Regions from separate parts of the Homo sapiens genome. Here region 1 is linked to region 2. The links are contacts of gene promoters, found by promoter capture Hi-C in blood cells and fetal thymus (Javierre and others, 2016). All regions are on one chromosome and are shown on one strand. Each heading gives the region's core, a stretch centred on a gene start or on the middle of the fragment in contact. The rest is flanking DNA. Distances are from core to core; before and after follow the strand shown. Region 1 has its middle 71 kb from the start of LINC03125. Region 2 holds the start of CD93 (CD93 molecule).

What was found. The method cuts DNA at HindIII sites, captures the fragments that hold promoters and counts their contacts. A CHiCAGO score of 5 or more calls a contact.
Region 1: a contact is called between a fragment that was not itself captured here and the fragment with the promoter of CD93 in region 2, in 5 of 17 cell types (neutrophils, monocytes, M2 macrophages and 2 more). The highest score is 28.1, in neutrophils.

What each region holds. Positions count from the first base shown.
Region 1 is chr20:23,216,869-23,221,526 of GRCh38, forward strand. No RefSeq gene overlaps it. Among named protein-coding and RNA genes, the nearest start is that of LINC03125, 71 kb to the left of the region's middle. The HindIII fragment of the contact is 8,690 bases long and covers 1-4,658 here.
Region 2 is chr20:23,084,086-23,088,839 of GRCh38, forward strand. It overlaps CD93 (CD93 molecule), which reads right to left and starts at 2,239. Exons shown (of 2, transcript NM_012072.4): 1 at 174-2,239. The coding sequence starts at 2,107. RefSeq lists enhancers at 2,223-2,402, 3,930-4,069. The HindIII fragment of the contact is 6,182 bases long and covers 1-4,754 here.

The DNA.
Region 1 (4,658 bases), core at 331-2,830, 130 kb after region 2:
CAATGGGATCAGTGCATGGACTTACCAACTGTAAGAACTTTTAACACATGACTTAACTTCTCTAACTCTCAATTTCTTAATCTGAAACCTACCTCAGAATATTATTGCGAAAACCAAATGAAGAAATGTATGTGAAAGTGATTTTATAATTAGTTTTGGGGTTTACTACATTATCATGGTTTTCTTAAATTTTTTAATTATTTCAATATTTTTGGGGGAACAGGTGGTGTTTGGTTACATGGACAAGTTCTTTAGTGATGATTTCTGAGATCTTGGTGCACCCATCACCTAAGCAGTGTACACTGTACATATTGTGTAGTCTTTTATCTCTCACTCCCCTCCTACACTTCCTCTCAAGTCCCCAGAGTCATTCTTGTGCCTTTGCGTCCTTATCGCTTAGTTCTCACTTATGAGTGAGAACAGAGGATGTTTGGTTTTCCATTCCTGAGTTACTTTACTTAGAATAATGGTCTCCAACTCCATCCAGGTTGATATTAATGCCATTATTTTGTTCCTTTTTATGGCTTAGTAGTATTCCATGGTGTGTGTGTATATATAGATATAGGTATAGATAAAGATATAGATATATAGATATAGATATATAGATATAGATATAGATATAGATATAGATATAGATATAGATATAGATATATCCCACATTTTCTTTATCCACTTGTTGGTTGATGGGCATTCAGGTTGGCTCCATATTTTTGCAATTGCAAATTGTGCTGCTATAAACATGCATGTGCAAGTATCTTTTACATATAATGACTTATTTTCCTCAGGGTAGATACCCAGTAGTGGAATTACTAGATCGAATGGTACTTCCACTCTTAGTTCTTTAAGGATTCTCCATACTGTTTTCCATAGCGGTCGTACCGATTTACATTCCCACCAGCAGTTCCCTTTTCACCACATCCACACCAACATCTATTATTTTTTGATTTTTTGATTATGGCCATTCTTGCAGGAGTAAGGTGGTATCACATTGTAATTTTGATTTGCATTTCCATGATAAAAGTGATGTTTAGCATTATTTCACATGTTTGTTGCCATTTGTATAACTTCTTTTGAGAGTAGTCTATTCTGTTCTTAGCCCACTTTTTGGTGGGATTATTTGTTTTCTTCTTGCTGAATTTTTTAAGTTCTTTGTAGATTCCAGATATTAGTCCTTTGTTGGATGCGTAGTTTGGGAATATTTTCTCCCACTCTGTGGATTGTCTATTTACTCTGCTGATTATTTATTTTGCTGTGTAGAAGTTTTTTAGTTTAATTAATTTCCATCTATTTCTCTTTGTTTTTGTTGCATTTGCTTTTGGGTTCCTGGTCTTTGCCTAAGCCAATAGATGAATTTTTCTGATGTTATCTTCTAGAATTTTTATGGTTTCAGGACTTAGTTTTAAGTTTTTGATCCATCTTGATTTGATTTTTGTGTAAGATGAGAGATAAGAATCCAGTTTCATTCTTCTACATGTGGCTTGCTAATTATCCCACAAACATTTGTTGAATAGGGTGTCCTTTCCCCACTTGATGTTTTTGTTTGCTTTGTCAAAGATCAGTTGACTGTAAGTACTGGGCTTTATTTCTGGGTTCTCTATTCTGTTCTATTGGTCTACATGCTTGTTTTCATACCAGTACCATGCTGCTTTGATAACTATAGCCTTGTAGTATAGTCTGAAGTCAAGTAATGTGATACCTCCAGATTTGTTCTTTTTGCTTAGTCTTGCTTTGGCTATGTGGGCTCTTTTTTGTTTCCATATGAATATTAGGATTTTTTTCTAGTTCTGTGAAGAATTATGATAGTATTTTGATGGGAATTGCATTAAATTTATACATTGCTTTTGGCAGTATGGTCATTTTCACAATGTTGATTCTACCTGTCCATGAGCATGGGATGTGTTTCCATTTGTTTGTGTCATCAATGATTTCTTTCAGTGGCGTTTTGTAGTTCCCTTGTAGAGATCGTTTACCTCTTTGATTAGATATTTTCCTAACTATTTTATTTTTTGCAGCATTGTAAAATGGGTTGTGTTCTTGATTTGATTCTCAGCTTGGTCACTGTTGGTGTATAGCAGTGCTACTAATTTGTGTACCTTGATTTTGTATCCTGAAACTTTACTGACTTTATTTATCAGATCTAGCAGCTTTTTGGATGAGTCTTTAGGGTTTTCTAGGTAAACAATCATGTCATCAGCAAACAGTGATGGGAATTGCATTGAATTTATAGATTGACAGTTTGACTTCCTCTTTGTCCATTTGAATGCCCTTTATTTCTTTCTCTTGTCTGATTACTCTGGCTAGAACTTCCAGTGCTATGTTGAATACAAGTGGTAAAAGTGGGCATCCTTGTCTTGTTCCAGTTCTCAGGGGAATGCTTTCAACTTTTTCCCATTCAGTTTAATGTTGGCTGTGGGTTTGTCACAGATGGCTGTTATAACTTTAAGGTATGTCGTTTCTATGCCGATTTTGCTGAGGGCTTTAACCATAAAGGAATGCTGAATTTTGTCAAATGCTTTTTCTGCATCTATTGAGATGATCATGTGGTTTTTAATTGTGTTTATGTGGTGCATTACATTGATTGACTTGTGTATGTGAAGCCAGTCCTGCATCCCTGGTATGAAACCCACTTGATCATACTGTATTATCTTTTTGATATACTGTTGGATTTGTTTCACTAGTAGTTTGTTGAGGATTTTCGCATCTATGTTAATCAGGGATATTGGTCTGTAGTTTTCTTTTTTTTAAAATTATGTCTTTTCCTGGTTTTGGTATTAGGGTAATTCTGGCTTCATATAATAATTTAGGAAGCATTCCCTCTTTCTCTATCTTTTGGAATAGTTTCAGTAGGATTGATACCAACTCTTCTTTGAATGTCTGATAGAATTCAGCTATGAATTCATCTGGTCCTGGGCTTTTTTTGTTGGCAATGTTTTTATTACTGTTTCAATTTCACTACTTGTTATTGATCTGTTCAGAATTTCTATTTCTTACTGTTTTAATCTAGATGGGTTGTATATTTCCAAGAACTTATCCATCTCCTCTAGGTTTTCTAGTTTGTGCGCATAAAGGTGTTCATAGTAGCCTTGAATTATCTTTTGTATTTCTGTGGTATCAGTTGTAATAGCTCCCATTTTGTTTCTAATTGAGATTATTTGGATCTTCTCTCTTTTCTTGGTTAATCTTGCTAATGGTCTATCAATTTTATCTTTTCAAAGAACCAGCTTTTTGTTTCACTTATATTTTGTATTTTGTTTGTTCCAATTTTATTTAGTTTTGCTCTGATCTTTGTTATTTATTTTCTTCTGCTGGGTTTGGGTTTGGTTTATTCTTGTTTCTGTAGTTCCTTGAGGTGTGAGCTTAGATTGTCTATTTGTGTTCTTTCAGAATTTTTGATGTAGGCATTTAATGCTATGAACTCTCCTTTAAGCACCAATTTTGCTGTATTACTATTTTCATTCAGTTTGAAAATTTTTTTAATTTCCATCTTGATTTTATTGTTGACTCAAAGATCATTCAGGAGCATATTATTTAGTTTCCATGTATTTGTATAGTTTTGAGTGTTCCTTTTGGAGTTAATTTCGAATTTTATTTCACTTTCTCTCAGGTCTGAGAGAGTACTTGATATAATTTTGATTTTCTTAAATTTATTGTGACTTGTTTTGTGGCCTAGCATATGATCTTGGAGAATGTCCCATGAGCTGATGAAAAGAATGTATATTCTACAGTTGTTGGGTAGAATGTTTTGTAAATATCTGTTAAATCCATTTGTTCTAGGGTATAGTTTAAGTTCATTGTTTCTTTGTTGACTTTGTCTTGATGACCTGTCTAGTGCTGTCAGTGGAGTATTGAAGTCCCCCCCACCCACATTGTTGTGTTGCCATCTATCTCATTTCTAAGGTCTACTAGTAAATGTTTTATAAATTTGAGAGCTCCAGTGTTAGGTGCATATATATTTAGGATTGTGATATTTTCCTGTTGGACTAATCGTTGTGTCATTACATAATATCCCTCTTTGTCTTTTTTCATTGTTGTTGCTTTAAAGTATGTTTTGTCTATATAAGAATAGCTACTCCTGCTCACTTTTGCTTTCCATTTGTATAGAATACCTTTTTTCACCCCTTTAAGTTTATGTGAGTCCTTATGTGTTAGGTGAGTCTCTTAAAGACAGCAGATATTTGGTTGGTGGATTTTTATCCATTCTGCATCTTTTAAGTGGAAATTTAGGCCATTTACATTCAACATTAGCATTGAGATGTAAGGTACTGTTCTATTCATCATATTAGTTGTCATCAGAATACCTTGGGTTTTTTTTTCATTGTGTTATTGTTTAATAGGCTCTGTGAGATTTATGCTTTAAAGAGGTTCTATTTTGGTATATTTTGAGGGTTTTTTTCAAGATTTAGAACTCCTTTTAGAAGTTCTTACAATGCTAACTTAGTAGTGGTAAATTCTCTCAGCATTTGTCTGCAAAAGACTTTCTCCTTCATTTATGAAGGTTGGTTTGCTGGATACAGAATTCTTGGCTGATAATCATTTTGTTTAAGGAGGCTAAAGATAGGATACCAATCCTTTCTGGCTTGTAGGGTTTCTGCTGAGAAATCTGTTGTTAATCTGATAGGTTTTCTTTTATAGCTGACCTGATGCTTTTGCCTCACAGC
Region 2 (4,754 bases), core at 989-3,488:
CTAAGGGGGCCCGAGTGCCTGGCGTGGGGGGAGGTTGAGGGGTCAGCTGCAAGGACCAGGGTGTGTCTGCCCACAGGAAACCTGGGCCTGCTCTTGCTGCCACCTCTTTGTACTGTAGTCAGTGCCCCCATGCCTGCCCATCCCCTCCCCCGGTCACTCAGGGCCCCCTTTACCTGTACTGGTTCTCCATGGCCCTGCTCTCAGCTCGCTCTGGAACCCAGGAGTAACTGTCTGCCGCATTCTGGGGCTTCTTCTCCTTCTTCTCCTCCCTCTTCGCTCTCCGCTTGCGATAGACCAGTAGCCCCAGAGCCAGGGCCAGCAGGAGTAGGATGGCCACCACGGTGCCTAGGATGTAGAATAAAAGCAGCTTTTGCCCGTCAGTGCCATCGTTGTTTTGTGTGGCCACGGAGGAGTCCCCACCTGCAGGCTCCTGGGGGCCAGAGGCAGCTGTGGCGTGATGGATGCTGGGCTCCCTCCAGACGCCTGGGGACCCACTGGGGGCCAGCATCTTGAGTGGGGCAGATGTGATGGGGGCGTCAGATGACAGCGAAGGTCTACTTGTGGTGGGTGTAGCCTTGGGGGTGCCCTCGGGGCCCCTTGTGGGACTGGCTGTTGCAGCACGGGGCACGGTGCTCCCTTCTTTCTCTCCTTTGTCCTCCTCATCGGGGGGCCCAGATGGTGGTCCCAGAGACACAGGCCCCATGGTGCAAGAGACCCCATTTGGGGCCAGCACCCAGCCTGGCAGGCAGCCACAGTGGAAGGACCCTTGTGTGTTGAAGCACAAGCTGTCGCAGAGGGGGCCCCCCGGGCCCACACACTCATCCACGTCCTGGCACTGAGTCCCGTCCTCCCCGGCCAGGACGTAGCCCTCCTCACAGGAGCAGTGAAATGAGCCATCTGTGTTGGTGCAGCCCTGGGCGCAAGGCGAGCGACCCAGAGCACACTCATCCACATCCTGACAGGCCCCCTCTCCAGGACCGCCCGGCTCATAGCCAACCCAGCATTCGCAGCGGAAGCCCCCAGGGGTGTTGACACACTCCTGGGCACAGGGGGAGTCCTGGCATTCATCCACGTCCACACAGTCCAGCTGACTCGAGTCCAGCTGGTACCCTTGGGGGCAGCGGCACGTGTAGTTTTTCCCATGGGGTCCCAGGACGCACGTGGCCCCCCCACGACATGGGCTGGAGCTGCAAGGGTTTCGAGAGGCACAGGTCACCAGGTCATCCAGCAGCCGGAATCCTGGTCGGCAGCCGCAGAGGAAGGAGCCATCCCCCCCTTCAAAGCAGTCCTGGTGGCAGCCCCCATTGTTGAAGTTGCAGCCATACTTGGGGCTGACACAGAGGGGGCCCGAGCTGCCCCAGTCGAACACATCGGGGGCCTTCTCCTTGCACAGGAAATAATGACTCTGAGTCTCGTCCTTGTCACCTTCCCCACAGGCTACATTGGCCGCAGAGGCAAAGGGCACAGCCTCCAAGGAGGAACTGGTGGTCTGGAAGGGGGTGGTGTAGGTCACCTGACCTGGGCCCCCCAGGGCCAGAGGCCGGCACATGCCTTTGAAGCTGAACTTGCACACGAAGCCCTCAATGTTACTTCCGGGGGAGCCTGGGCTCCCACAGGGGCCCTCAGACCACTTGGGGAGGCGGCTGGGAAGGAGCGGCTGGGACAGGTCCAGCAGCAGAGACACACAGCGCTTGGAGATGCACGAGTTCCGGAGCTCCTTGTGCCAGTTAGAGTAAGGCGTGTCCTCCCCCCCGCCCACCCAGCTGAAGCCCTTCAGCGGCAGACTAGGGTCCAGGCACTTGCCCTTCTCTCGCTGGAGCCCAATCCAGAACTTGCTCATCCTCGCCGTCAGGGCTGCCTCCCGCCTCAGGAGCTGGGCCAGTACTCGCTGGACGTGCTGGGCCTCCTCCTTGCTCTTCACAGTGGCCAGGTTGCCCCCGTTCTGGTTGCAGTGGTTCTGGGCCTCGGCAGCGCTCAGCTTGCCCGAGTGGGCCGTGTAGCAGGCGGTCCCCACGCAGACCACCGCCTCCGTGTCAGCTCCCGTCCCCGCCCCGGGCTGGGTCAGGAGCAGCAGCAGCAGCAGCAGCAGGCCCATGGAGGTGGCCATCCCGGTCTCTGTGTGGCCCTCTGCGGGAGGCGAGAAGCCCAGCGGCGACAGGAGCTTCTATCTCGGCTCCCAGCTGGGCCCCAAGGGGAGCTGAGGGGTGAGCTGCAGCCACTCCGGCGCAGAGAAGGACACAAAGGCTGAGGGCTTTCCACGTCCCCCTGACCCAAGGCGCATCCTGTACTGTTGTACTTCTTATTTCTCACCGGATGTTGGGGCTTCCTGCAATGAATAGTTCTCTGACTCCTGCTGCCTTCATCACGGTGCTGTTGTTCATAAAAGGAGTCAGGCAGCTCTGCCGGGTCCCTGGCTCAGCACTGTGGAAACAGCGACGGGGGGAAGACGTTACAGCCCCGAGATACTGCCGGCTTGATTTTGGCTCCATTCTCTTTCTCATGGCATGAGGAGCCTCGGAGGCATGCCATGGAGTGAGCAGGGGCTTTGGGGGCTAGGAACTCGAGGAAGCTCCCTTAGTAACCCATAATAAAATTCCACTTTGGTTTGCAAACCACCAAAAGAGAAAAAAAAAATTCTGAGACTTAAGACACAAGGCCATGGATGGTTATAATTTTCAGCCTTTTTTAGAAGCAAACTGGACTTTCCTTTTGCCTAGCTCATGTTCTCTGTTGACTTTGGGAGCCTTTTTTCTTTTATCCTCCCATCGTGAACCTTAAATAGACAGGCATTTTTTAAATAGGATACGGGTCGTGGGAATGTCTGGGTTTTCAACATAATGCCAAGCTCCTCGATAATGTTAATCCAAATTGGGTGAAATTTGGCAGTTCTGGGGGTTTCATAGTGGAAATATTGCATTGTGAGGTGTCAGGGTCACAAAAAGCATCAGAAAGAAAATGAAAATGTGTCCGGCCTCGTGGCGCAGGGCTTGCAGGCTCACTTCCCCCGGCTCAGGATTCCTAGCAAGGGCCGGAAATCTGGGCAGGGAGCGGGAATCGAAGCCCGGGCAGGCCCTCCCGCGACACCGCGACTCGGCAAAAGCCAGGGACTCACAGTGTGCTTTTCCTGCAGCCACAGACCTTTGCTCATTGGTTGGGATCCCCCAGGAGGGGACCCTGAGACAGGATTTGGGGAGACTAGTTTATGTGGGAGGGGAAGTGAAACAGACAAGGAGGAAGCCAACCCATGATGACTTGCTGAGAAGGTGACCCTGGGCTGCTGGAGCCAGTGCCAGGAAACTCTGGGGGCCTGAGGGGACCACACCTCAGCACCATCTCAGCTGAGGGAGAGGCTCCACTGCTCTCCAAGTCCCCTGTCATTGGTAGCAGGCTGTATCTCTCACTTTGAGAGACTGACTATAAATTCTAGCCCTGCCCAGTGACCAGGGGTCTCTCTCACATAAAACTTGTTTCTATGGACAGACACCCTTGTGGCTCTCGTCTGACCCATGTCCAGTTTATTCCTATCAAGACAGCCACTTCCTAAGAGATCCCTGATGGGAGGAGAGTTGGGTTGGGGTGTGGGTCAGGGGAGATGCAGGAGGCAGCACAAGAAGACACAGGAAGCAACACAAGCACCGTGTCACTTACAGATCCCAGGGAGAGGGCAGTGCACCCCACGGGGCCAGCAAAAAGTGGGGAGCTGTCTGGGTCACAAACACTCACCTGGAGGGGGGTGAAGGGAGAGAGAGAGACCTGGGTCCTAAGCCTTTATTGGGGTCCAGGACGTTTCCCAAGCAGGTTTCCCAAGGGGACTTCTCACTGGTGGGTTTAGAGCAAACAGACACGGGCTCCGTGGGGTCCCTGTGGCTGAGAGGTGGGCATGGCGGCATGTCTGGGAAGTCCCTGTGGGGTGTGGAGTCACTGAGACCATCAAATGGGCTGTATCTGCCTGTCCCACAGGGAAATGGTCACCAGGAGGTGGGTGTACAAGGCAGATATCTGGGTTGGCCGCATTGAGGAACTGGGAGGGGGTGGAGCCCTAGACACCGTGTCAAGAGCAATAAACCCTGCTTCTGGTAGGAGAGGGTCCAAATTAGATTCAAAATGGATGCAATGCACAATTATAAGAATTCTCTACACAGCGGCAACTCTTTGGTGCTCTGCACTGACCGTGAGGGCCCCAGGGGAAGAAGCGCCACGGTGGAGAACACAGTGAACGCCTGTGGACCCGGCACCAGCGACCACCACAGTGGCCTCCATGGAGATGTTGAGTTGTCCCGGGGGCTAGGAGCTCGCTGGCTCCCCAAGGGACAAGGAGGCATCTCTGACTCCAGCTGGATACCTCCTAAGAATGTGCCTTAAGTCCTTGCATTTTAGCAAAGATATTTGAGACATTTTGGGAACTCTCCATAGAAGCCACCAGACCCTCCCTGTGCCCCTTCATTCATCCATCTGTTTGTCCATCCACCCATCTAACAATTGTTGATTAAGACCCTGCTATGCACTGAGTGAGGCACTGGATTCCAGGAGGGGATCCCTGCCTCTGTGATCCTGGAGTCCTGTTAGAGTGGACAACTTTGAACAAGTCACGGCACTGATGGCTTTATTGCAGGCAGCACAGGGGAGCGGGGAGGTCGTGGTTGATACAGGGGTGGCATCCTGACTGGGGGATGGGCAATTAGGAGAGACTCCTCTGGAGAAGACAGGCAGTCAAGCCGGAATCTAAAGGAGAAGCAGCTCAGATGTGGAATGGT